Regions from separate parts of the Homo sapiens genome. Here regions 1 and 2 are each linked to region 3. Evidence: promoter capture Hi-C in 16 types of primary human blood cells and fetal thymus (Javierre and others, 2016). All regions are on one chromosome and are shown on one strand. Each heading gives the region's core, a stretch centred on a gene start or on the middle of the fragment in contact. The rest is flanking DNA. Distances are from core to core; before and after follow the strand shown.

Region 1 (4,067 bases), core at 833-3,332, 580 kb before region 3:
TTGCTTGCTCAAAGATTATCCCAACCAATGTTTTCAACTGGGAAGTTATGGAGCTTTTTCTTTTCCCCTACAAAATGTTCCCCAGAAGAGAAAGGGAAAAGGAGGGAAAGGCAAAGTGCTCTGACCTGAAATAGGACAGTCATCCTCCTCCACATGTGTATGTCCAGGATAGCCTGGCCATTAGCCTTAGGAGAACCTAGTACCTGCTGCAGACTGGAGTGGAGGGACAAAGTCAGAAGTGTTGCTTGGGCCAACCCTTTAACATCCTGTCTGAGCACCACCCTCTGGGGGCTGTGCGGAGGATTTATCCTTTCTCGTAAAACTGGTTCCGGTGAACCTGGAACTTTATCTCACTCCAGCTAGAATTCCAGTTTGACTAGCGCCTATCAGGCTGCCATCACCTTGAAGAATGGTCTGGAGACATGAAGATTCCCTGCAAATGACATCATACAGTGAAAAAATAGAAACAGAAGAAAGCCAAGGGCGCAGGGTTGGCTCAATTATTTTTTGAGATGATTACTAAAAGAGAATTTTGAATTTATTTCTGATACATTTTACTCATATTGGAAGGAGGCAATGCATGGCTAAACATGGTGTTCAGTCAATAAAAAGGCATCTTATGTTACATTCCTCCCCCTAGCTTTTTATCTTGTCTTTGTTAACACGAACCTTTTAAATTTTATGTATAGATGTGTCCATCTTTTCCTTTAAAAATTCATACTTAAAACAATAAATGCTTGTATAGGCCTTCTATTTCCTGAATGTCAGTAAGCACTCACCAAGATTTCCTGCCAATTATTTTATAGTTAATATTTGTAATAATGAAAAGCATACTGTATTACTAGTGGTTCTCATTCTTCAGTCCATATCATTATCACCTGGAGGAGTTTGCAAGCTATAATTTTACAGTCTACCTCCAGAATGTGGGTCAGTGGGCCTTATGTGGGGCCCAGACATCAGCATTTTCAAGATGCTCCCCAGCAGATTCTGATGCAGGTGATTATGTGAGATACTTTTATAATAAAACATTTAGAGTACAATCAATTCTCTGCCCTGTTTCTTCTTGGAATTGCTTGTCATAACTCTAGAGAACTAAAGACTTGTAGATTATTCAGCGAGTAACCTAATTTGGACAAACCTACTAGCTCTTAGTAGCAATCAAAAAATCAATTAAATATTAAAACACAATGTGCCAGTTAAACACATACAAGTATTCATATGTGGGATACCAAGAGGAAGAGACAGTCTTTGCTTGTTCTACAGGGGAAATATAATCTCTAACATTTATATAGTAGCATTCTACTTCAAGTACATTTACAAGGTTCTTACTGACTTTGAAAGTTTTTTTTAACCACAGGTCAACAGAAGAGATGGAATTAAGGGGACTGTTCCTTAGATCTGTTCCCTGCATCACTTTGTGCAATTTATATATGTTCCCCAGCAGTCTTCCGAACCAGTAAGTCAGGCCTGCCCAGGAGCCTTCAGGAAGAGATCATCCCACGAGGACAAAACCTCATTCCTTAGACTTAGAGCAAAAACTGTGATTACAACAGGTCTTTGACTCAAACTTATACCCCAGTCCAAATCCCAAATGGAGTCATCACATCTGACTCCTATGGAGAAGAAGGGTCTTGTGATTGAAAACAGAAGGGTTATTTTGCTAAGGGCTCTGAAAGACCTTGTGGCCCAAGCAACCCTAGAGAAGTCCCACCTGTGTTAAGTGTCACTATAAAGCAGAGAGAAGCTTTAGAAGACAGTGAAAGTTCAACCTACTGAGGACTCCAGGGAACTCGGTGGGGTTTTGGCCCTCAAGGACTGCAGTGCATCAGCAGTAGTGGGGCCAGCAGGGAGCACAGCACTCAGCAGAAGAGGCAGCAGTGTTGGGCAGGCATGGCAGGAACCAGGGGAAGAGACAGGGTTCAATAGCAGAGGACTGATAGGTAAGCCCCCACCTCTGCCTACTGGACTTGATCCTGAGTACAAGTTGCATCATGCCAGGCCCTCCCTTAAATATTGGTGCTTCTATAGTGGGTTGGGATTCCGTATGCACAGGTGGGAACAAGATCTCACTGAGCACAGCTGTTACTGCCTCATTTCTTCCCCACTGCAGCCCTGTGAAGCAAATATTTTCCCCATGAAAAGACTGAGTCTTAAACGTGTGTATCTGTAATAATTGCCAGTTTATTCCTCTGGCTAAGAGATCCAGAGGTAATTTGAGGTTTACATTTCTTTTTAAAGTTCTTTCATCAAGAGTTTAGGTGCCCCCATTGCCCTCATAAGCTGGTTGCAAATTATTTGACTCTTACTTGTAAAAAAAATCCTTAATTCTTTTTGTGTGTGAGACACGTGTTCATTAAAAAGTACATATAAGCAAAAAGAACAAAAAGAAGAAAACAAATAAAATTTCACACCACACAGAAATAAGCTTGGTTAAGTTTGTGATATATGTTATATGGATGTATGTATACACACACGCACACACACAAAGTTTGGAATTTTATCCTACATATGTGAGCTGATATTAAATATGCTGCTTTGCCATAACCTGTTATGTTTTACTTTACAACATGGAATGAACATATTCCCATGCAAATGTGTGAAAGTTTCCAATTGAAAAATAGACCTGGAAAATGGGTCAAAATCCAAAATCCAATGAGATGCTGGTACCAAGGAAATTACCTAAAACAAAATTTCATCAGATGATTAAAAGTAAAATGGAGGTCAAAGATACATCAGAAAATGCTAACAGAAAGAAAGCTGGGGCCAGATTTTAATATTAGGCAAAAATGAATTCAAGGCCTAAAGCACACAGGATAAGGACGGCTGCGTGAATGTCTTTGCTTCCAATGCATCATCACAAACTTGTTTCTTACTCTTCTTATCTCTTCCCTAAGCCTTTCAAGCTCATCTACTCCTCTTATCATTTCTTCAGGGTCCAAATGCCTAACGGGTGTGTCCTCTTTAAATCCCTGGCCAGGCTGATTCGGCCCTCCTCTGGGGTTTCCTTCTGCTTCCTGGCTTACGCCTTCTTCGGAAGGTTGAGGATTTCCTTCTGCCTCCTGTGGTACATCCTCCAAAGGGCGATCTTCCTCGGCCTTTGGCATGTTCTGTGGTTTTCCCTCATTTTCTTCACAAGACTTTTGCATATTGAGTATTTTTTATTTCCTTTTTGAATAAATTAATCCTAGAAAACAAGGAAACAAAACTACTAGATTCCAGGCAAACAGACCAGCAGTCAGAGTATGGGGTCCCATAGCGACTGGCCTTTTTTGACTCAGTACCCTAATTGTCAAAAGTTTTCCAACTAGAGAAAGCTGGATCCTCAGGCTCAGAACTCCCCTGACTCCACCTCCCTTCGCGCCCCCTTTCGTTCCAGCTCCATCTTTCTCCTCCTGCTCCTGCCCACCATCTTCCCAGCAGGCCCTGCTACAAGCCTCTCCTAATACTGAAATGGGAGCAGTACGGAAGCAATTAACCCTTCTCCCGCCTCTGGTCTCCAACACTCCCGCCCTTCAGACTTTCCCAGGCCCTCTCAACCTCCAGCCTCTCACCTGAGACGGCTGGTCCAGTCTCTGGCCTCCCCTCCCCCTTCAGCGTCTCTTAAGCCTCCTCCTCCCCCGCCTCATTTCCGCTGCAGGCTCGGCACCGGCCTCTGGCACTTAATCCGGATGGGGAGGGGCTGCTGCGACCCCAGGATGTGCTTTGGTGTCACTCACACTTCCACCCCCACCCGAAGAGACCTGAAGCAATTGCACCTTTACAAAAACTGACCTGCAGGGATTCAGGGGATTTTCCTCTCTCTTCCCTCACCTCGATTTGTGTCGCGCCCAAAAAACCAAATATCCTGCAGACAGATGGGAGTGTTTGGTGAGCAGACTAGTACCTGGATCACGGGTCCCTTTCATGATTCTAGGCCATGTTGGTGTAAAGTTTCCCATGTCCTCATCCTCGCCCTCCTTTTATGGCAACCCCGCCCTCCTCCGTGCCCACCGTTTTTCTGCAAGCAGGGAGTAGGAAAAGCAAGTTTCTTCCAAACAGTTTCTATGTCTCTCTCTCAGGACCCTTAA
Region 2 (4,377 bases), core at 935-3,434, 610 kb before region 3:
CCTCGCGTCAAGAATCCGGAGGAGGAGACTGCAAGGATAGGCCCAGGTCGGTGCGAGGGTCGGTGGTGAGGCGGGGGCCGGAACGTGAGGAAAGCCCAGTCTGAGACCCTAATCCATGCCTTCACCCTCGCCCCCCTCTACCCCATGCAACCCTCCCCTTCCCACACGCCATCCTCGTCCTCCATTTTGCTGCCTGCGGAAGCCTGGAGATGGATCTACAGGGAAAATGGTGGGCTTTGCGGAAGGGAGGGGCTCGGATTGAGGGCACCCCACAGGGCATACTGGCTTCTCAGGTGGAAAAAAATGAAATGTTAGAGTATAAAGTCAAGTCCAGGGCTCTGAATTTTAAAAGGTGCCTAGTAGGGCCTCTGTCCTCAGTGCTTATCAGTCCACCAAGAATTCAGCCCATTTTCTCTCTCTTGTCTCCTAGGAGTAATGGAGTCCAAAGAGGAACTAGCGGCAAACAATCTCAACGGGGAAAATGCCCAACAAGAAAACGAAGGAGGGGAGCAGGCCCCCACGCAGAATGAAGAAGAATCCCGCCATTTGGGAGGGGGTGAAGGCCAGAAGCCTGGAGGAAATATCAGGCGGGGGCGAGTTAGGCGACTTGTCCCTAATTTTCGATGGGCCATACCTAATAGGCATATTGAGCACAATGAAGCGAGAGATGATGTAGAAAGGTTTGTAGGGCAGATGATGGAAATCAAGAGAAAGACTAGGGAACAGCAGATGAGGCACTATATGCGCTTCCAAACTCCTGAACCTGACAACCATTATGACTTTTGCCTCATACCTTGAATCCTAAAAGTTTTCGCTGAGGTTAATGTGAACACTGCTTTACAAGCTTGTATTTTTGTGATTTACTTTTTCTGTAAGCCTTTTGGGGTTTACACTTACCAGTTTCTAATGGAAATTAGAATTCTAATTGAATATTGTTTTGTCTCAGCCTAAAAGTTACGGTCAGCATGGCAATTCACCTATTTTAGGAAAAATACTCTTTTCATAATATGAAATGCATAAAGCAGTTCAAAAAGCAGTCTGTATTCCATCATCTTCCTTTTTCATTCCAGTCCTTATTTTTGTAAGTATTACTTTTCCTCCTCCGGCTACCTGGACTCAAAATCTCAGTTGTCTTTGACAGTTTTTTTCTTGTCCCTGACCAAAAAAGAATGATCATACCCAGAATTCAATGTTTGATATTTTAAGAATGTATGTTCTAGTGTTTTTCAGAGTGAGTCTACCATCTGTATAAAAACACCTTGGGGGCAGGCAGGGGCATTTAAAAATGTAGGACCTATCGTCCAGACTCACAGAGTGGGGCTCCAGAATCTCCATTTTTAACAAACTCTCTTAAGTAATTCTGATGTGTACCAAAATCAGTGCCATTGGTGTGTGTGTACGTAACTATATACATATGTGTGTGTGTGTATATATATAATGTGTCATAACCGTAAACAATAAACAATATCAAGATAAATCTGACTTTGATGGGCAAGTAATTAAAAAAGAAAAGTATGAGACCTTAAAATAAGACTGATGATTATAGGAGTGGTAGGGACAGTGGCAAAGTTATTCACTGTGCAAAGCAAAACATGCCTGAAGGTCACAGCCTGAGGAACTCAGAATTCATCACCCCTGTCAGCAGTTTCACATCCAGGATCTCATTTTATTCTTAGAACAACCTATAAAATCTGTATTGTTATCCCACTTTTACAGATGAGGTCACTGGGGCTTAGAGATGTTAAGTACCAAGGCTAACTCCTGCTGAATATCTTGGGGGTGGGGGAATCCAGCCTGGGCCATTTTCTATTGGACCTTATCATCTGGAGATGCAGAATATTTGACTTTTGTAACTTGATGACAAGCTGAGGATGGTAAAAGAGACTCAGCAAGAATGGGGCTGTTTTTCTATACACTGTTTTTCTACATCTCAAGTACACTTTAATTTTTAGAATATTGAGGGATAAAAAAAGTAAGATCCTCTAGTGTTGTTCAAAGTTAGGATTGCCACTCTATGGCTCTTGAAATCAGTTTTGTGGGTTACAACAAGCAATTTTTTAAAAAGAGAACAAAAGTCATCCTATCACCCGTGAGTAGTGTTAAGAATTGTTTTGGAGAAAATAATGTGTTCTATGTAGTAAATATTGCCACCTTTATGATGTATTTCTAACTAGATCACAGTGAAAAAAGAATGAAAATCACTTATTTGGTGCAAACTTGGTTTCACAAGTGAAGAATTGTTAAGAAAGCGATTTTTCCTAAGGTCATACAGCCAATTAGTGAAAGCTGTGACCACAGCCTTGGTGCTTCAGGGTGCTTGTCTTCTCACCACATTGCCTCCACAAAGAATTATTTGGAAATTTTTGCATTATGTACTGATTGCCAATCAGTGTAAATGGAAAAGCATATACAACTTATGCAAAAATCACTTTATATGAACTTCACACTATTTAGTCATCAGAATTCCTGCATGTTCAACTGAGAACCACATTTAAGGGAAACTCTGCCTCAGATAATTTTGGAGCTGGAGTGATCTTTCACCTGTCTAGAGGAAGAGGATGATATAGAGTCTGATTTGAAAATGCACAGTGGTGAACTCAGGCACTTCAAAAAGGCTAGTTGACTGAGTAGAGTCCATGAATGATCTTTTGGTTCCTCTGAAAATGAGTACTATGCCTTCTGGCAAAGACCAATTGTGGATTTCCCAAAGTAGCCTCAATCTACCTCCCTCACAAAAAAAGCTAGCTGTGGGGGTGTGAGATCAGAACATGATTAGTTGAAAGAAAGCTGAAGCCTCCTCACTGGGGTTTTTGGGGGAGAATGAGGAATAAGGACAGACTTTCTGGAAGAAATAAAAGTGTCAATGCTTGGGTTCAGAATATGGTTTTTTGAAGTACCAAAATGAGCCCTGTCTCCTTGGTGTTTCTGGGAGAGTGGGATGATAAGAACAGAATTTGCTGGAAATGGTAAAGGTCAGGGAACGGGGTCACAATGTAATTGGTTGAAGGAGAACTAAATTAAGACTCCTATCGTGGGAGTTTCTGTGATGGTAGGCGACGAGCACAAAACTTTAGAGGACATAACGTTCAGTGACCAGAACATGATCAGGAGCGTGATTGAAGAACTGAAGAAAACTCCCTTACCTCTGTGTTGCTGCAAGGGTGGAGGAGTAAAGAGAGAACTTTCTAGAAAAAGCTAGAGGGGGCTGGATCAGGTGACTGAAGAAGAACAGAGCTATCACAGCGAACACATTTATACATCCCATGGGAGGGTCAACTTTCCTTGATCTTGGTGGGCAATACATTTTGTCTTTTTAAGGTGACAACAGAGAGATGTCAGTGAATGCCTCTAAAGAGACTAGCAAGAAAGTATAATGACTCTTTTATAAAAACCAACAAAAGCAAATAAACCAAGAGTGAAGAAAAAGGGCTAACACATTCATCCCTATCAGTGGTTTATACATTCATATTTGTAAAATTTTAGTTTCTTGAGGAAAATGTGCATGTTTTTATGGATTTTGGAGCAAAGCTTGGGAAGGATGCCTGTCAACTAATGCCTGGCAAATCTTCCAGAACTTAAGAGGAGAAAGACTGACAAGACCTCTGAGAAGAGGAGAGTCAGTCTAATCTTACACAGCAGCATATGCTGCTGTCTTCATATTACAGAAATTGGAGATATCACTGAAGAAGTCTTTAAAAAGGCCAGTGTTATGGACCGAATATTTGTGTCCCTCCTAAAATTAAAATGTTGAAAACCTAATTCCCAAGGTGATGGTATTAGAAGGTGGCGCTTTTTGGGGGGAATTAGGTCATGAAGGCAGAGTCCTCATGAATAGGATCAGTACCCTTATAAAAGAGACCCCAGACTGGGCGTGGTGGCTCACGCCTGTAATTCCAACACTTTGGGAGGCTGAGGCAGGCAGATCACGAGGTCAGGAGATCGAGACCATCCTGGCCAACATGGTGAAACCCCATTTCTACTAAAATATAAAAAATTAGTCAAGCGTGGTGGTGCGCACCTGTAGTCCCAGCTACTGGGGAGGCTGAGGCAGGGGAATCGCTTGAACCCGGGAGGCAGAGGTTGCAGTGAGCCGAGATCATGCCACTGCACCAGCCTGGTGACACAGCAAGCAAGACTCCGTCTCAAAAAAAAAAAAAAAAAAAAGAGAGAGAGAGACCCCAAAGAGCTCCTTCACCTTTTCTGTGAACCAGGAAGCAGGCCTTCATCAGACACGGAATCTACCAACACCCAGTCTTGAACTTCACAGCATCCAGAATTGTGAGAAATAAATTTCTGTTGTTATAAGCCACTCAGTTTATGATATTTTGTTATAGCAGCCCATATAGGCCAGGACAGCCAGCAAGAAAAAGATTGAAC
Region 3 (4,379 bases), core at 1,345-3,844:
TTAAGGCAAGGTCTTGCCCTCAGGGAGTTTACAAATTAACATGCAAGCTCAGGATCTCATTGTTTACAGTTGAAATAATGTCATTATACTGACTTATTTTGTTAACAAACTTTTCCTGTCTTTCTTACATGATCAATTTTAAATTCCTAGATAGTAAGCTCACTGTATACATCTTTGAAGCCCCTTCAGTGTGCAGCACCAGGATCCTCCATGGAGATAATAAATATTTGTTTACCAATTAAATGATTAGGTAGGTGCCCAGAATTAATGCCTCTGAATTGATGCCAAGGTACAATAGATCCATAGTTCTGTAAGATGCCAAAATACTATTATTTATAAGGTAACTAAAGAGCAGAAGTTATGAACTTGACTCGATCATTTTCTGGATGGGGAGTAATGGGAATTCCACCTGTTGAAAGTCAAGGGAAATGCTCCAGTTTTCCTCCCCCTACTCTCACATTTTAAAAATAAGTATATACATTTCCCCATTCCTACCCAAAACAAGAGCAGAATAATGATATCCAGTTGATGTTGTCGGTGGGTGCTGGCCTCTCCACAATCATTTATCATTGTTTGAAAATGAATGTCATGTCCTTTAGTACATACTTAAATTAAAAAGAACTAGCACAGTGTAAAAGCAAATGAAATCATTTTTTCCTCCCCCAGAATATGCCGGATTTAATCCAAACCTTTAAACAAGGTAACATTAAGCAGGCAAATGAATTCTTTGATAACACTAAATACGTAAATAGGAAAGTCAAATGACGTATGCATCCCTTATGGGTCCTCTGTCGGGCGAGCATTTGGACCAAAACGCTTATTCTGATTTTGATCCCATTCAGAGAAAGATCTGACTCTAACTGAGTAAAATATTCGAGAGACGCAATTCCCCTTTCCTACCCCCACAAACTCATTAATGAGCATGCTCTAAGGATAGTTTACTAACTTTTTTTTTTCCCATCAGGGTCTCAGTCTTGGAGAGTAAGGTGAATTAGGAATTTCCATAACCAATACTCCCCAGCTCTTTGTTCTTTAACACACTTGAAACCTTCTGAATCTGCAGTACCCACAAAGCCTTATTCAAATTATTGTATTTAGTTGGGAATGCTTAGAGGTGGGAGTGGAGGTGGGGGAGGAGGCAGTACAATGAAGAAAAAGAAGTTGAACCTTTGAAAATAGTACATTTTAGTATGATGATGGAGAGAAGAGAGGCAGAAAAGCAAATTCGCATCAGTTCAGTTGCCATGGAGTGGAATGATGCTCAAAATCAGTAGTGCAGATTGCTCGGAGGCAAGTCTTGAAAGGGATGTGTACTGCAGGGATCGATAGGGGAAGAGCAACTGGGGAGGGCTAGGCACTGGATGAGAGTGGCACTGTTGGAAGTCTGTACAGGGGAGGAGCCATGGTTGGACCTGTGGGGAAAGCCCATCTTGTGGCGACACACTGGTAAGGGCTACTCAACTCACTGTTGAATGCTGGCACAATAATTGGAAATATTGCACTGAAGAATTGGGCGCGGCTATATTTATGTAAAATTCAACACGGATGAGAAATGATTGAATGTTTGAGTGTGTTTCCAATACAACCCAATACTTGGCGTTGGTGCTGGTGGTGGGTGCTTCGTAGCGCGGAAACCCTCTGACGCACTGGATTCATTTTGCAGAGCTAACAAGTTATCAGCTACATCCATGCCGACTCCAAATGCCACAGCTGTCATGCCACTGAAACGCTATTCCTACATTCATGCCCACATTTATATCCTATATGCAACTCAAAGGGTCCAATGTGGAGTCCCACATCTAACCTTTCACTGCTCACAACGACAGCTCTAGGGCTATAAGCCCAAAGGCACACTAGATAGCAATCTGGCATCGTCCCCAGGACACTTCTTCCTCAGTAGACTGCCCAGGGACAGATAGGTAGATAAGGTTTGGATGACATCAAGCGAGCTGAACACAAGGAAAAAAAGCTTCCTTGGGAGACAAGAATGCTGGCATCTCTACGACAGGGGCACTGTTAGCATTACGGACCTAGAAAGTGAGATGTCACACATAGTCCCAACTACCTCCGACCCAGGTCCTCTCACCTCACCCCCAGCTCTTAGAGCTAGTCGGCTGTGGCGCATGCGCACTGAGCCACACCCGCTCCCCACGGAGCCCTGCGCCTCTCTGCTCGGCTCTGGCAGCAGCTCGGGATTACTCAGCAACGCCCCCCTGCACTGTCACCTGCCCCCGACTCCGACCTCGGGAGCGGCTCAGTCCCTTTTCTCAAGCTACGAGTGGTCCTGGGGATCAACTAGACTTTCCTTTCTCCCTCTTCTCACAGGCCCCCCACCTCCCGGCCTTCCGGGTCCTCCAGCCCCTAGCCCCTGTTCCTGCCCACGCACAGGCACCTTACCCAACACAATGGGAAGGAAACAGGAGAGGGCCGCGGGTGCCAGGCAGGTCAGCTCTGCGTGCCGGGAATCCGGCTCCTTAGAGTCACCGTCACTGCTCCTGCTGCCTCCTCGTCCTCAATGGGGCAGCAAGTGCGGCTTGGACCTCGGTGGCCTGACAGCTGCCGCTCGCGCCCGCCGCTGCCGCCGCGCAGCGTCTCGAGCCCGCGCCCGCGCCCGCCAGGGGAGGGGGCGGGGCCCGCGCCGCCTCCTCGTGCCCCTTTCTCGGCGGTGGGGACCCGGTGTAGCCGCCTCCCGCCCTCCATGTGGCAAGCGCTCCCTGGCTCGCCCACTCTTCTTTCATGCTCATCGTCCAACCCTGGTCTCCCTTGTCCTCCTTCTCCTCCCCTAGCCGATTAGTAGGCACAGCGGCAATAGACCGTCAAATATTGCTCTTCCACTTAGCTCCTCTGCAGCCTGGGCCTAAGCCCTCAAGCAGGGCTAGCCACTGCCCCACTTCCTGCAATTATCCTCTGATCTACCTCATTTATCCTAGCTCAAAATCCTTTAATTTTGCCAAGAGGGTAGTACATACACCCTCTTGTTTCAAATAACTCAGGAAAACACATGATCACAACACATTGCTAGGCCCTCTAACTGGCTACAGCTTATGAAATTTTCAGGCAATTAAAAAAAATGTCCACATCTGTAGCGCAGGCATAGAGGACACACTGCCCTTTACTCTTACCAGATACAGTTCTAGAGGGCCACACAGGGGGCATTACTTGAATTTCCCGGAATTGCTGCTGGGGCAGAATTTGATGTTTTAATTGTGCCTAGCCGACCAGCTAGTCTCTTTTTGTTGTTTTCTGTAGCCCTCTGGTACTTCCAACTAGTTTGTGATTTTCCCCCTGGAATTGAAGAAGGACAAAGCTCCTGAGGTCATTTAGCCTGCACTCCACCTCTCTGTCAGGCAGCTCCATCTCTGAAGCTTCCCCATTGCCCGAAACCCTGTGACCTTGTGGCACAGGCCCTCACTCATCTCATGACCCCGTCCAGGCCCTCACACATACCCGCTACTTCCATCTAGGCCACTCTTCCTCTGTCTCTTGACAAGGCAATCGTGCAATCAATCTCCGCAGGCCCCAGCTTAAATGTCACTTCTCAGGATAACCTTTCTCGATAATCTCAGAATAGAGATGGTGCCCCAGTTTATACTCTTGTAGCCTCCTGTAACTTGCTGTATTTTTCCTTCATAACACTTACCCATTTTTGGTGGTACATTTAAGTGTATGATTATTTGGTTGACAGCTGTCTTCCCTACTAAACTATAGTGGGGAAGGACTATGAGGTCAAGGACAACGTTTGTGTTCACCACCGTATGCACAGAGCCTAGGGCAATGCTTGCTGCATAGGACATGCTCAGAAAATATTTGCTGAATATGAATGAATGCTGTATCACTAATAGTTGTTATATTTAAATAAAATAAATTGATGTAACTGAATCTCATGTGCTCCTATTTAAACCAACCCCGTTCCCCACACATACACTCTAAAACACTCTTCTGATGAAGACGAGATTCACACAATCCTCTAAATCAAATTTTCCGCATACATTTTAGTCTATTAAAAAACTATTGAGCATGGGCCCCAACATATGTATAAGGATTTATAGATTATATACATGTACTACTGTACATGTATACATTACACATTACTTTAAACATACATTTTAATGAGTAAACATTAAAATACTCCACAGAAATTTTAAAAGAATGAGAAAAATAAATATATTGATGTTCCAATGTTTTCTTTTTGCACCTCAATAAATAGTTTTGTGAAATGCTTTAAATAACAGTCCTTCATATTAGAGTAACTCGTCTTTAGGTGTAACAATCTAGACTACTTTTTCATTTTCTCATAGATGCCATTTTCCAACAGTTTAAAAATCTCTGAGAAACCCCCAAACCAACTGGCAAGTTTTAAGGATCTTTTAGTTTCTAAG

What was found. The method cuts DNA at HindIII sites, captures the fragments that hold promoters and counts their contacts. A CHiCAGO score of 5 or more calls a contact.
Region 1: a fragment that was not itself captured here is called in contact with the fragment with the promoter of RAB9B in region 3 in 1 of 17 cell types (naive B cells); the score reaches 6.3 in naive B cells.
Region 2: a fragment that was not itself captured here is called in contact with the fragment with the promoter of RAB9B in region 3 in 2 of 17 cell types (fetal thymus and total CD8 T cells); the score reaches 8.1 in fetal thymus.

Annotation. Positions count from the first base shown.
Region 1 is chrX:103,250,834-103,254,900 of GRCh38, forward strand. It overlaps TCEAL8 (transcription elongation factor A like 8), which reads right to left. Exons shown (of 3, transcript NM_153333.3): 2 at 3,772-3,844; 3 at 2,162-3,184. The coding sequence starts at 3,146. The coding sequence ends at 2,793. Among named protein-coding and RNA genes, the nearest start is that of TCEAL8, 2.3 kb to the right of the region's middle. The HindIII fragment of the contact is 681 bases long and covers 1,743-2,423 here.
Region 2 is chrX:103,215,719-103,220,095 of GRCh38, forward strand. BEX4 (brain expressed X-linked 4) reads left to right here. Exons shown (of 3, transcript NM_001080425.4): 2 at 1-46; 3 at 431-1,528. The coding sequence starts at 436. The coding sequence ends at 798. Among named protein-coding and RNA genes, the nearest start is that of BEX4, 2.8 kb to the left of the region's middle. The HindIII fragment of the contact is 2,684 bases long and covers 843-3,526 here.
Region 3 is chrX:103,829,663-103,834,041 of GRCh38, forward strand. It overlaps RAB9B (RAB9B, member RAS oncogene family), which reads right to left and starts at 2,595. Exons shown (of 3, transcript NM_016370.4): 1 at 2,398-2,595. The HindIII fragment of the contact is 1,396 bases long and covers 1,968-3,363 here.